Linked DNA regions of Homo sapiens: regions 2, 3 and 4 are each linked to region 1. The links are contacts of gene promoters, found by promoter capture Hi-C in blood cells and fetal thymus (Javierre and others, 2016). All regions are on one chromosome and are shown on one strand. Each heading gives the region's core, a stretch centred on a gene start or on the middle of the fragment in contact. The rest is flanking DNA. Distances are from core to core; before and after follow the strand shown.

The links. Contacts are between HindIII fragments. The CHiCAGO score rates a contact against its expected background, and 5 or more counts as called.
Region 2: a contact is called between the fragment with the promoter of AGA here and the fragment with the promoter of CBR4 in region 1, in 1 of 17 cell types (non-activated CD4 T cells). The highest score is 6.3, in non-activated CD4 T cells.
Region 3: a contact is called between the fragment with the promoter of SPATA4 here and the fragment with the promoter of CBR4 in region 1, in 5 of 17 cell types (total CD4 T cells, activated CD4 T cells, total CD8 T cells and 2 more). The highest score is 18.1, in total CD4 T cells.
Region 4: a contact is called between a fragment that was not itself captured here and the fragment with the promoter of CBR4 in region 1, in 1 of 17 cell types (naive CD8 T cells). The highest score is 5.1, in naive CD8 T cells.

Annotation. Positions count from the first base shown.
Region 1 is chr4:169,008,769-169,012,073 of GRCh38, reverse strand. CBR4 (carbonyl reductase 4) reads left to right here and starts at 1,819. Exons shown (of 5, transcript NM_032783.5): 1 at 1,819-2,126. The coding sequence starts at 1,985. CBR4-DT (CBR4 divergent transcript) reads right to left here and starts at 1,645. Exons shown (of 2, transcript NR_185919.1): 1 at 1,618-1,645; 2 at 1,014-1,290. RefSeq lists enhancers at 1,440-1,769, 1,869-2,818. The HindIII fragment of the contact is 6,180 bases long and covers 1,141-3,305 here.
Region 2 is chr4:177,441,187-177,444,491 of GRCh38, reverse strand. It overlaps AGA (aspartylglucosaminidase), which reads left to right and starts at 2,055. Exons shown (of 9, transcript NM_000027.4): 1 at 2,055-2,243. The coding sequence starts at 2,117. It also overlaps a transcript of AGA-DT not described here. RefSeq lists enhancers at 1,390-1,469, 1,560-2,103, 2,930-3,009. The HindIII fragment of the contact is 8,233 bases long and covers 1-3,305 here.
Region 3 is chr4:176,194,108-176,197,412 of GRCh38, reverse strand. SPATA4 (spermatogenesis associated 4) reads left to right here and starts at 1,828. Exons shown (of 6, transcript NM_144644.4): 1 at 1,828-2,068. The coding sequence starts at 1,851. The HindIII fragment of the contact is 1,203 bases long and covers 1,136-2,338 here.
Region 4 is chr4:163,156,689-163,159,993 of GRCh38, reverse strand. The region is part of intron 2 of NAF1 (nuclear assembly factor 1 ribonucleoprotein); the gene reads left to right. Among named protein-coding and RNA genes, the nearest start is that of NAF1, 8.5 kb to the left of the region's middle. The HindIII fragment of the contact is 1,988 bases long and covers 786-2,773 here.

The DNA of each region.
Region 1 (3,305 bases), core at 570-3,069:
ACTTCTAGACTCAAGCAATCCTCCTGTCTCAGCCTCCCAAAGTGCTGGGATTACAGGCATGAGCCACCACGCCTGGCCTGCTAATAGTTCTTAAATGCAGCTCTTATCTTATTACTTCTGCAGTTAAAGGCCTGTTTAATGCTTGGCACCTGACTTTAAAGCTGACTATAATATAGCACCATCCCAAATTTCCTCAGGCTTGTTTCCTCATTGTTTCAAACATATATTGTTTCAAAGACACAATTTTTATGTGTGACTGTTTGCTTATATTGTTTAACTTCCTATTGTATTTGCTTTTAATAAAGTCTAATAGATGCTATGAAAACAGCCTTACAATCTCTTTTTCTTTTCATGAAGCTCACTGTCTACTACAATGCTTAGTGTGCCATTTAGGAGGACCTATGAGGAGGGAGTTTTGCTCAGGCTTCTCTGCTGCATAACCAGGAGGCTGATTTCTTACAGAAATTACCACTTGTAATTATATTTCCTTTGTTGCTTTCGCTGGCAGGAAACTCTAAGTTTATGAATCTCTTCTTTAATACTAAATAGATTCTTATAGCATGACTTTATTCGTATTTTTTCCACTGACCTAATTTATTGTTCTGGCCTTGTGGGAGAAGGGGCAGTGGTCCTCTTTGCCTTTTAAATTCAAATACTCATGTATTTTTGCAAACCATTTCAAATCTTTTTTTGGATCTAAATGGAATAGGAATAACAAATTTAAATTAATGCTCAACTTGCTTATTTATAGACTTTTTGCTCTTGTTTTCCTTTTTTCAAACCTCATCCAGCCCTCAAATCCAGCTTTTCCATGCACCCCTTCATTCTTCACTGATCTCCATTTTCTCGGAGCTCTTGTGTTAATATAATTTTGCATTTTACTAAGTATGATTTTGGATACCTCCTAGTGTTTCATGTGTATTAGTCCTGTAGTTCTGGGTTGTAGTTTTTTTAGTGGTAGGGACCATGGCTCATACTTTTCTGAATCTAGTAAAATAATATTGTATCAGAAATGCTTTCTGTTTACACTATAATTGTAACAAACATTGAATTTTTTAGCTTATTAACTCTCAGAGCACCCAGTACATCTTATTTAGAATTGCAGGAACCCATTTTTGTTTCTCTACAGCAGCCGAAGCTTGTTTCATAGATCTTGCAAGACTATTCAATCATTCAGTTAAAATTCCTTGACCTCCTGCTGGATGATGTTCGACAGGGCATTCATCTTCACGACACCCTTCGCGATGAATGGTAACATCTGGGCGGGTAGAGGTCCATTTCTACAGCAACCTGGGGGAGGAACAGGTAGGGTAGGTTTTGGTGTGGGTGCGATTCTTGGGGACTTCTTCAACAGGTAGGACATCAAGTCTGTAGCCAAAACAACACCTGGGCGAAGGGCAAATACCGGAGCCCCGACCGGCTCACGCCCAGTAATGCTTTCTCTGGGTTCTAACTACGTGATCAGGTCGTCTTGGTTTGCCAGGGAAAGCCCAGCGTCTTGACAACCCTGTCAGTTCCGAACAAACCGGGTCGATTGGTCACCGGGGCTCGAATCCCGACTGATATGACCCAGCGGGGACAGAGGATCCCCCTCAGTGCCACAAGTACATTCCCCACCGAGCAGCGCGCCTGCGCCAGTTGCTCTCATGCGTCAAGACTACAGGTCCCAGCAAGCATCGAGGCCCTCTCCAGGCCATTCTTCCGCCGGCGGGGAGCTCTCGTCGGCGTATTTGTTAGGTGTGGCGCGGAAGAGTCCGTGCGTGATGACGTCGACGCGGCGACGTCGAGCTCTTCCTCCTTTTCACGGCGTCTTGCATTACTATTGTGCGGCTGCAGGAGGTGTCGAGCGGCGTTATTTTTTTTTGCGGTTTGCCTTTTTTTTTCTTTTTTTTTTTTTTGGAACCGCGGTTGTTTAAAAGCCTGAGGGAACCTGGAGAGGGGCTCCCACTCCCTACCCTCTTTCCTCCGAGTTTGTGACTCCGAGATGGACAAAGTGTGTGCTGTTTTTGGAGGCTCCCGAGGCATTGGCAGAGCTGTGGCCCAGTTAATGGCCCGGAAAGGCTACCGACTGGCGGTCATTGCCAGAAACCTGGAAGGGGCCAAAGCCGCCGCCGGTGACCTCGGCGGTAGGTACCAAACTGGAGTTGTCCAGTTGTATGGCCGCGGTCCAGGCGCCTAAAGAAAATCTCCTTTGTAAAAAGAGCGGGTCTGGCCTTTAGGGCTCTAGGGTTACTCGATGTAGCCGCGTGCAGGCGCTCTCCCGTTCCAAGGGTAGAATGCGTCTCGTGCAGAAACCCGCGATCTCCCTATGCCTCGCAGAATGCCGGCCACGCAGCTTGCCGCCGAGGGCTGAACACTTGGGGTGTTCTTTGAGACCTCGTAGTCTTTTGAGGCCCCGCTATACGCACCCTCCGCCCTGCGGCTAGTGCTAACGCTGAGGAGCTTCCCTGTTGTGGGAGAGAGCCACGTAACAGTTTACTTTTAATGTAGGGAAAAGGGCGAGTTCTCGGCCCCCGGAGACAGGGCTGGGTCGAAAGGAGTTCAGGCAGGAAAGGTGGGAGTGCAGGTACCAACGGCTCCCTTCAGTTTTGCCCAAGGGCCGTGCCTTGGCCCTGCGCGAATGCACAAAGCAGTGTTTGATAGAGAAACCCTTTTGAGTACCAGCCAGTTTTGAGATATACCTGGTTTGCTTTAATGTTATTAAATTGTTTTGGTGAGTTTTGCAAATGGACAATTGAACTTTGTTCTGCCAAATTCTTTTTTATTGCATTTAAACTTCAGGGTTTTTTATTTCCGGCTTATTATGAATGGATTAGTCATTTTGTGAATATAACTCTTCATTGAGTTTAGGGAGAAATAGGACGTTAGATCCGAAGATGCTATTTGTTTAATCACCAGAATGGACAAAATTATACTTCATTTACTATCAGGGAGGCATGGGGAGAATAGAGGCCTAGGGGTGCGTCTTGTGGCTCTTACTGTTTTTGTGTATCTGGTTTTTTTTTTTTTTTTTTGAGAGGGCTTCCCATTATGTTGCCCGTGCTGGACCCCAACTCCTGATTTACTGGCTCTAGAGATCTTCTCGCCTCAGTCTCCCAAGGACCTGGGACTATAGACGCCAGGTGTGGCTGTTCATTTTTAAGTTAACATTATTGATCGGTTTGGTATCACCTGTTCAGTGCTGGTTGGGAGACTATTGGGCTCTCTAAAAGAAAAAAGATTCTGTAAGTTATAGGTCAGGGAGAGTGTCAGTGAATGCTTCTTGAAGCTCATATTCCTTACCATTCTAACAAAGGAGGGGAAGA
Region 2 (3,305 bases), core at 806-3,305, 8.4 Mb before region 1:
GGTGGATCACCTGTGTCAGGAGTTCAAGACCAACCTGGCCAAAATGGCAAAACCTGTCTCTACTTAAAATACAAAAATTAGCCGGGCATGGTAGTAGGCAGTAGCAATCCCAGCTACTCAGGAGGCTGGGGCAAGAGAATCGCTTGAATGCAGGAGGTGGAGGTTGCAGTGAGCTGAGATTACACCAGTGAACTCCAGCCTGGGCGATAGAGCAAGACTCCATCTCAAAAAATAAATACATACATACATACATACATACAAATATCCATGGAAAAGTTGATATATTGAGACCTTCTATCAGCCATTCCCACTATAGTGTAATTTAGCTGTTTCTCTGACAGGAATTTTTATTTAAGAAGAAAGAATTTGGAGAAATAGACATAGTAGGAGGTAACAGATCAGGCTCTTTCCACCAGAAGAAACACAAATACCTTAAAAAACAGGAAGAGGCTAGAGAGATCAGTGGGGTACTAAGACCAATTTTCCATGTATTGTATTTTACAATTTTTGCTAAAGGCATGTCCTAATTCCTTAAGGCTGCATAAAAATACTCAGCCCAGGAGCTAAGGAAAATTTACTCAGAGGACAATGTATGTTTTTCTGGCTTTCTTACCCTGTTTCACCCAAGTTTCCAGTTTCACCTGCCATTGGGTTATGATTACTCCAGCACAGATGACTTGTTCCTCTTCCAAACCCCATGAAAGGAACTTAGAAAATTTGTCTTTATTATATCTTTTAATTAACACTTCCCCAACGGGATAATGATACTTCTGGGCTATCTTATGTTCTTTAAATTATGTATTTAATTTCCTAGCAATCAATAAGAGCCTTGAAGGTTTTGTAAGTCTCACAACTCCTACCTAGTTTATATTTTTACATTTATTTATTTATTTATTTTTGAGACAGAATCTCACTCTGTTGTCCAGGCTGGAGTGAAGTGGTGCGATCTCGGCTCACCACAATCTCCACCTCCCGGCTTCAAGCAATTCTGCCTCAGCCTCCCAAGTAGTTGGGACTACAGGCATGCACCACCACGCCCGGCTAATTTTTGTATTTTTAGTAGAGACGGGTTTCACTATGTTGGCCAGGCTGGTCTCGAACTCCTGACCTCGTGATCCACCCACCTCAGCATCCCAAAGTGTTGGGATTACAGGCGTGAGCCATCGTGCCCAGCCTAGTTCATATTTTTAAAGTTTGTATAGATTTATAGATGCTTTTAAAAATTATGTGATTATGTGTCTTGCCTTGGCAACCTGGGCAGGCATTCCAGACACCCAAAGGGATTATTAGTTCATGTTCGCACGTCTGCCCAGCAACAAAACTGAGCAGCCTCCACCAAGCACGTAAAATCCCCATTCCTCCTCTTATTCATTTATTTAGCACTTAATAGTGCCAGGCAGGAAGGTAAAAATACATTTAAAAAGGAATGGAGGTAGCCGTCTTGCCCTGGAGGTGCAGGAAGCTGCACTTCAGTGTGCTAGGTAGAGGGTACATAGGCCGTTTCTGTTTTTCTTCCAGCTCAGGGATTTATAATGAGAGGAAGTGCTACAAAAAGCTGTGGTGCGAAAATGACGGACGCTATGAATGGAAAAAAAATCTAAAATCAATCCGGTCCTAAGCAAACACGCTTCACCTACACTCATAACTATTGCAGACCTCCGAGGCCTGGGATCCCCAAGAATATACTGAGTTTGACAAACTTTTCAACTTCAACTTTAAATTAAAAAGACAGTAAAAGAACCAAATCCATAGTACACAGCAATCGGCTAAAGTTCCTGGGGCCCTGCAACCCAGAGTTGAATAATTTTGTATTAAATTCCCAATATCAAGCTAAATCTATTTTAACCACAGGAAAAGCAGCAACTTGTCTGGCTATTTTAAAAATCTGAACAGCACTTAGGAAGAAGCACCTTAGCGCAGGGAACAGCTCAGTGCCCCGTGACACAACTCTCCCGCGGGCCCAGGGACGCCTCGTCTCGCGAGAGTTGAGGGACGCCTGAGCGAACCCCCGAGAGAGCGGGCGTGGGCGCCAGGCGGGCGGGGCACTGGGGATTAATTGTTCGGCGATCGCTGGCTGCCGGGACTTTTCTCGCGCTGGTCTCTTCGGTGGTCAGGGATGGCGCGGAAGTCGAACTTGCCTGTGCTTCTCGTGCCGTTTCTGCTCTGCCAGGCCCTAGTGCGCTGCTCCAGCCCTCTGCCCCTGGTCGTCAACACTTGGCCCTTTAAGAATGCAACCGAAGCAGGTGCGGGTTGGCGGCCTGGGCGGGCGGCTGCGCCGCGAGAGCTTGCGGGTGGGGATGACTAGCCCGCCCCGCTGCAGTCACCCGGCAGGGCGGACGGAAGAGCGCCGGGCTGGGCCGGGCCTCGCGGTCCCGCCCTCTAGGTCTTCCCGAGTCTCCAGCGCCGCTCAGTCTCTTGCAAGTGGCCTTTACTGCATCCTCCCCACCTACCGCTGTTGCATTTTAGGTCCTCCCTTCATGCAGCCCCCAGCGCAATGTATTTTCCACCCTGCTGCTGACCATAGTTATGGCCTTTGTGCTTTAATCAAGTAGCAGCTACGCTTTTCTGCCTGACAGTCTTTTCACGGGCTGTGTACGTCTCCACCTCTCGTTTCTAATCCTTCACTTCTTTGCAATTTTGTAGACGACTAATAGTGTCCCAGCCATAGCCTACTCTTTTCCCATTTACTTTTTTTGCCACGTGTTGTCATACTTTACCTGCCACTTAGAATTCAAGGTTCCAACCTTTGCTGTACATTCACACTATCTGGGGAGCTTCTCAAAAATCATCCTGCCGGGGCCCACCTCCTGTGACTGTGATCTAACTGCTGGAATCAGGGCCACTGTTTTTCTTTAAAAAGCTCCCTAGGTGATTTCGATTTGCAGACAGGGTTGAGAACCACTAAGCTAAGGTATCACCTCTTCCAGGAAGCGTTCCCTGACTTAACTGCCCTCGTGTCCAGAATGAGTTAGGTTCCTGCCTTCTACACCTTGTTAATAGCCTTTACGTACCATTATCTTGGCATTTTCGCATTGTACTATGCTTGTTTCTTTCATTTGCTTAATGACCAGAAGAGTCATTTTCAGACCCCTCCTCCTCCATCTGAGGTTGCTAACGTATTAACTTTCTAGGGCAGAATTGGCTCCAGAATTTGGTGGCAGTGCATACGATTCAGAGAAAATGAAGAAGCAGGCTGTGAGAAAGATATTCCCAGCCATAATGAGACGAAAAGAAATTGCATCAGCCTGGGCGGGGGACAGTTCTGTGTTTAAGTTGCCTGTATTGAAAGAGGGAACTTGCGTAAA
Region 3 (3,305 bases), core at 579-3,078, 7.2 Mb before region 1:
TTTAGCTCAGTGAGCTAAGCGGTGACTTTGAATAGAATAGGAGGCAGGTTTGCCCTAAGCAGTTCCCACTTTGACTTTTCCCTTTAGCTTAGTGATTTGGGGGAGGTGGGGGGGGTCCCAAGATTTAATTTCCTTTCACAGTAGAAATGGCTATTCAAAGCTTTCATCTTAAAAATCAGCTTAAAATACCACCTTCTAAGATCCAAATTAATGGTCATCTCTTTTGAGAGGACTTCTTACACTCTCCCAGGCCAAAGTATTTGCTTCCTTTCTGGTGCTAACATATTTTTACCATGGCAGAGCTTTTCAGTGTATGTAATCTTTTCACTGATATTTCTATCTCTGAATCTCTTATAAATGATCTGCCGCACAGAGCTGTCCAATCGAAATTCCTGTAGTGATGGAACAGTGCTGTGTCTGTCCTACCCAACATGGCAGCCACTAGCTACATATGGCTATTGAGCAGGTAAAATGTAGCCAGTGGAACTGAGTTTATTTAAATTTAAGTTTAAATAGCCACATGTGGCTAGTGGCTACCATATTGGATGGTAAAGATCTAGCACATACTCCAGGATAGTTCCTCAGAAAAGGTTTACAGAATGAATGAATCATTCATTAAAACTTTTTTAGCCTAACAGAAAACACTTACATAGCTTCAGTTTTGGTTTTCTTTTTTAACCACATACAGAATACACTGGTTTACTTTATTAATAAGCATGTATATGAATAAACATTAAAAATATTACATAGTATCATTATCAAGATCTATCCCATATTTTACCATGTGTATGTATCCACAGGGCCTGTCACCTGGCTCTCTGCAGCCTCAAGTTCCTGAGCTCAAGCAATCCTCCCACCTCAGCATCTGGAGTACTTGAGAGTACAGGTGTGCACCACCACACCCAGCTATTTTGTTTGTTTGTTTGTTTTGTAGCGAAAGTCTCTCCACCTTGTGTTGCCCAGGCTGGTCTTGAACTCCTGAGCTCAAACGATCCTCCCGCCTCCACCACCCAAAGTGCTGGGATTACAGGCATGACCCACTGTGCCCTGCCAAGCAAAAAAAAACAAAAAACAAAAAACAAAAAACAAAAAACTGTGGCTGTAAAAATTTTTAATGGATTTTAATAATTAAGCTTACATATTTATAATTGCCTATGCCAACTTTGCAGTTGTTTTCATTGTGTTCAGATAGATCCCAAGTGACTAGATGAATGCGTGGCACATAATATGGACTCAATACATATTTGTTGAATTAATGAAGGAATTATGCCTACTAGGAGATTTTAATTAAGTGTGAAAATCTAACCTACACATCGTTTTCAAATATTAATGTTTACAAATACTTAATGCAATAATTAAGGAAATAGTTATGTTAAATTTTGTGGACATTCATTTCCATTTCAAAGATTTTTTTCCCCCATCTCTTCCAATTCCCAAACAAAAACTGTCCTTGGCCTCTGGAGTCTTCTCACACCACTCCTCAAACTAGACGACTGAAAATAGGCCTTTGGCTGGGCAGAAACCAACAATATTTAAAATACAAAACTTATGAACGATGACATAAGAAAAAAAAAGCTCTAAATAGGTTAACAGTGAGGCCAACTAAATCTGAGACTGAAAGCGCTCCCCAGACCGCAGCCACACCACTGGGACCCCAGCTTTGCCTCCCTCGATACCCGGCCCCGCGGTCCAAAATCTGAGTAAAGCGGAAGTACGGGCGGCTGCTGCGGCGCTTGCGCAGGCGCTGAGGTCTCGCCCCATAAGACTCCGCCCCGCCCCACGAGACCGCGCCGCCAGCAATAAGGCCCAGCCCCGCCTTCTGCTGTTGCCGCAGCAACCCAGAAAGCGTCATGGCTGCCGCCGGCCAGGAAAAAGGGTATTTGACACAGACTGCGGCAGCCCTAGACAAGTCACCGTCACTTTCGCCACAGCTAGCAGCTCCCATCCGAGGGAGGCCTAAGAAGTGTCTGGTCTATCCGCATGCGCCGAAGAGCTCCCGCTTGTCTCGTTCCGTTCTGCGTTGGCTTCAGGGTCTGGATCTCAGCTTCTTCCCCAGGAACATCAACAGGTGCTTGAGTAAGCCAGTCCTAGGCCCCCCCGGTGGGCGCCCCGCCTGCTTTCCGCCGCCTGCCAGGCCTCAGATTGCCTACCCTGGCCTGGCTTATGTTTCAAATCAAGACCCCCCCACCCACGTACACACACGAAAACACTATTAGGGAACAAGGCTTTAACAAAATACCACGATACATCTTGTTTATTCAATTAATCAACCAATCATTAAATTGTGGACAATATAGAATGCTTTGGTGACTACAAAAATATTAAAATAGTCAAAGCTTTTTCTTTAGTGATATTGGGCATTAATACTGGTAAGGACGGCCGGGCACAGTTGCTCATGCCTGTAATCCCAGCATTTTGGGAGCCGAGGCAGGCGGATCACCTGAGGTCAGGAGTTGAGTAACAGCCTGACCAACACGGTGAAACCCCGTCTCTACTAAAAAATACAAAAAATTAGCCCAGTGTGGTGGCGGGTGCCTGTAATCCCAGCTACTGGGGAGGCTGCAGGCAGGAGAATGCTTGAACCCGGGAGGCGGAGGTTGCTGTGAGTCGAGATTATGCCGCTGCACTCCAGCCTAGGTGGCAGGGTAAGACTCTGTCTCAAAAAAAAAAAAAAAAAAAAAAAAAAAAAATACTGGTAAGGATCAGTTTACCCTTTGTCGGAGATGGCATCTAGTTTGAGAGTTACCAACAAGTTTTTAAAGTTGCTGCTTAATTGTAGGCACTTTGTATGTAACTGGCAGCTAATATTTGCTCTGGGAATGCAAACTAAATTCTATAAAAAGGCAATGAATCTTTTGCAGAACTCTGGTTTAAAGTAGTCTCTCCTTATCAGAGAGGCATAGGTTCCAAGATCCCCAGTGGATGGCAACTGTGGATACTACAGAACCCTCTGTCAGAACACATTTCTGTTTATGTCTTCCATCCACAAATTTAATGCCTTTTTAAAAATCTTAACTAAGCACTTATCACACACTGTGGCTGAAAGTTTTTCAGTTTGAGGTGTGATGCCGAAACTATCAAGAATTTCTTTTTCTTCATATTTCAGGAATATGATTCATTCCTACCATTGTAACCATTCTTACAACTTTCTATTAAGTCAAGAACTTTCATCTTTTCACCTAAAGGAATAATTTTATGGTTTCTCTCTGGCATATCTGAATCACCAGCATCACTGCTCTTGCACTTTGCACACAAGCGCACCACACTGTACAGTTGATCTGATGACTAAAAGGTGACTGATGTCT
Region 4 (3,305 bases), core at 530-3,029, 5.9 Mb after region 1:
TAGGGTCATAAAAATATTTGGGATTATAATTTTTAAAGTCTTAATCAGAAATGAGTTTTATAAATTAGTGCCCATTGTTTTCTGAAAACCTGAAAGGCTTCACATAACATTTAAAAATTATTAGCACAATGTTTATGGAGATAAGAAATGGATAATACTTCAGTAGGGATAATAATGTGTCTTTAGGCATATAATGTAGCATGACCAAGAAAAAAATTAATGCTTATTGGCAATTTTGGGGGAAATTTAGCTGTCATACTTTGGTGACTGCTTATTTTATAAAATAAGTACGTTTGGTAGTTAGGTTGAGTACACTCTATTCTCCTGATTGTGGCAGTGTGGACACATTCTAAAATGTCCTAACGTGAATGTATGGAAATATCTGGACCACTCAAGTGGTTGGAAGTTGCAGTAGAATATTTCATGCCTGTTTGATCTCCCATCATATATGAAATTGTATTGCATCTTGGTCTACACTTAGTAATTATCAATTGAATATATTGTTTTCTAGGCATAAGTTGGTTTATAAATTTTGTCCTGAATGCAGGCCTCTTTTAACTTAGGTTTTTATTACTATATGTATATTTGGAACTATTAAATTCTATTTTAGAATACACTTTGATAGCACTTATTAACATTCTTCCCAAAGTGCTTGTTATTTAAGCAATGGTTTGTATACTTAAGATCATTTTTCATTAATATTCACTAGTGTTCTTCAAAAATAATTAATACTCAGGGTTTTTTAAATTAAAGTTTTATATCTTACAGAATATTTCAATAAAGCTTACATGAGGCATGAATGATTTCATAAACATGAAATAAATACTGTTTTATTCAGTAGAGTATCCATTTATGTCCTGTGTATATACATATATAATTATTATTACACAGAAACATTCAATTGTTTAGATTCCCCCATTCCTCAGTAGTTTCTAATAAGTGAATTCTGCTGATTGCTTTAGAAGATAAAGACAAATATCTGTTAAAGAGCAATGGAACTAGAGAATGAGCATATACACTTTAGCTGAAAGCAAAGTAGCACCAGAGAGTTAATGGTTGAATGTCAGATGAATGGTGTACTGCACATAAGAAGTGATAGGATTGAGTGGAAGGGGAGGTAATAAGGATTTCTGAAAAATTTAGGCTAATACTCTGTGGCATTTTACAATTATTTGGCAGTCTTTTTATCTTAGTGATATAAAATCAGTGTCTTAAAGTTGATGAAATATGCACTCAATTAACATGAAAGATAGGCTTAAAGTTATATTCATTGTTGGAGGTTTCTTATTGAGATGGACTATAGTTTTATATTTAAGCAAATTAAATTTTGAAAGTATTATGAACTTTGTTTCTCTTAACAGTAATTTTAGAGAAAAACAGGATAATAATGTATTCATTTAAAAAAGAAAAATATCAAGACACTTCAAAGAAATGTTGACCCTCATTTTTTAATTGACTTGTCTGAGTCTTAAGTTTAGTGTCATACACAATAGGGTAATTAATGAGGGGACTAATGCTTACTGGTGATAAATAGCTGAGTTTCATGGAAACTTGTAAAATTACTTCCCCTGAAGAAGTTAATGAATTAGAATACATGTTAAGTATGGTCATAGTTGACACAAAGTGTACAGACCTAATCCATTCTTTTTCCAATATGTTTTACCAGCTATAGAGAAAAAAAAAATTCAGTCATGGCTCTCAGTACTCCAGGGATTGGATCCTACTTTCCAACCATATCTGAAAAGTGAAGGCTCACCTAATAGCATCAGGTAATTGGCTGCCACGTGCATGTCCTGTGTTGGGTAATATGAGAAAAGTGGTTAGATAATTTCATCCCACCTTCCTCACTTTTCTCAATTCTCCCCAAACTGACACCAAAAAGGTTTAGTTTTCATTTGGAATGTTTGATTCCTTCTCCCACCAACCTCTGTTGTCCTTTTTCCATATTTGTGAGTGAAAATCCTACTGAAAGTTCTTTATATAATTTTACTTTAGAAAGTCATCAATTTACTGATACTCTTTTTTGCTCAATAAGCCTTCACAAATGCTTGAAAAGTCAACAGTGTTGTAAATTATAAATGTTACCTTTTCAGAGGGCCACTTTTGACATATTAGCTTCTTCCATTTTTGCATTGAAAGTTTTAGGCACCCATTTTTTGACTGGTATGTCTATAACCTCATTTTTAATAGGATGGATTTTTAATGTTATGTGGTACTCTTTTGAATATTTTGCTTAACTGAATAACCTTGTAGACCATACAGATGTTAGAAAATTAAAATATAATAATCTTACAAAACAGACAATAATTGCTCTTTCATGGATATTCCAGAAGTGTGGTTAGGATCTTGCATTTCTTTAATGCCATCGTTACGAGTATCTGTTATCACAGAAGCACAGTAATTTTTTTATTGGGATCTAGTATATAATTTCTGTATTAATGTGTTGTCTTTTTGATTACATGCAGTTGGACATTTAAATTGTCGTTAGCCATTTGTGTAACTGTTTAGAACTTGTGCTCAGTTTCCTTACTATTCGTAGGTAAGAAAAATGAAACCAGAAAGAAAGAGACTTGTCTGAAGTCATATTAGTGGGGAGGAGCAGATCTGAACTGGTAATAGATACATTCCAAACTGCTGTGTTTTTAGTATTTGTGGAGACCTGCATAGCAACGTTGGAATCTGGTCGTTTGGACTTTCTCATTATTTGGTTTCTGAATAATCATGTAGCATATTTTCTCAAAGTGAAGGATGAATGTATCATCTAATGTAAGCTTTTTAAAATTGTATTTGCTTGGATTATATTGCCTCTCAATAAAGCTTTTGACTTGGAACTGTGTAGTGTGTGGGAAATAAATGGTGGAGCTTCTTTAGTATGTTGAATTTTAGTAGTTCATTTGCGAAATGCTGTGGTGTTTGGGGATGTTTATTTCCATGCAAGCTTTTCATTTGCTAATGATGTGAATGAAATAGTTTTCTTCCTTTCCTTTCCTACTCTTTGTTATGTGTAGAAGTATTGAATAAATGAGTCCAGAAAAACTTTTTGCTGTTCTTTGATTTTTTGTTAGTAAACATTTACAAAAATTTCATTTGTATGATAAAATAGTTATTTCTAATGGCAGATAATGTACATCCAGAACAGGCTTTTAGTTGCATTTTAATTTTGGGAAACAATGAAATTAAAATATAGATTTATCACAAATCTCCATTTCCAAGTAGAGTATTCAGGTTAGCATTAAGACTTCATTAGTAATATGGTGCATGCTGTTAAAATGTGGTCTTAAAATTATACCTGTGTTAATGGCCAG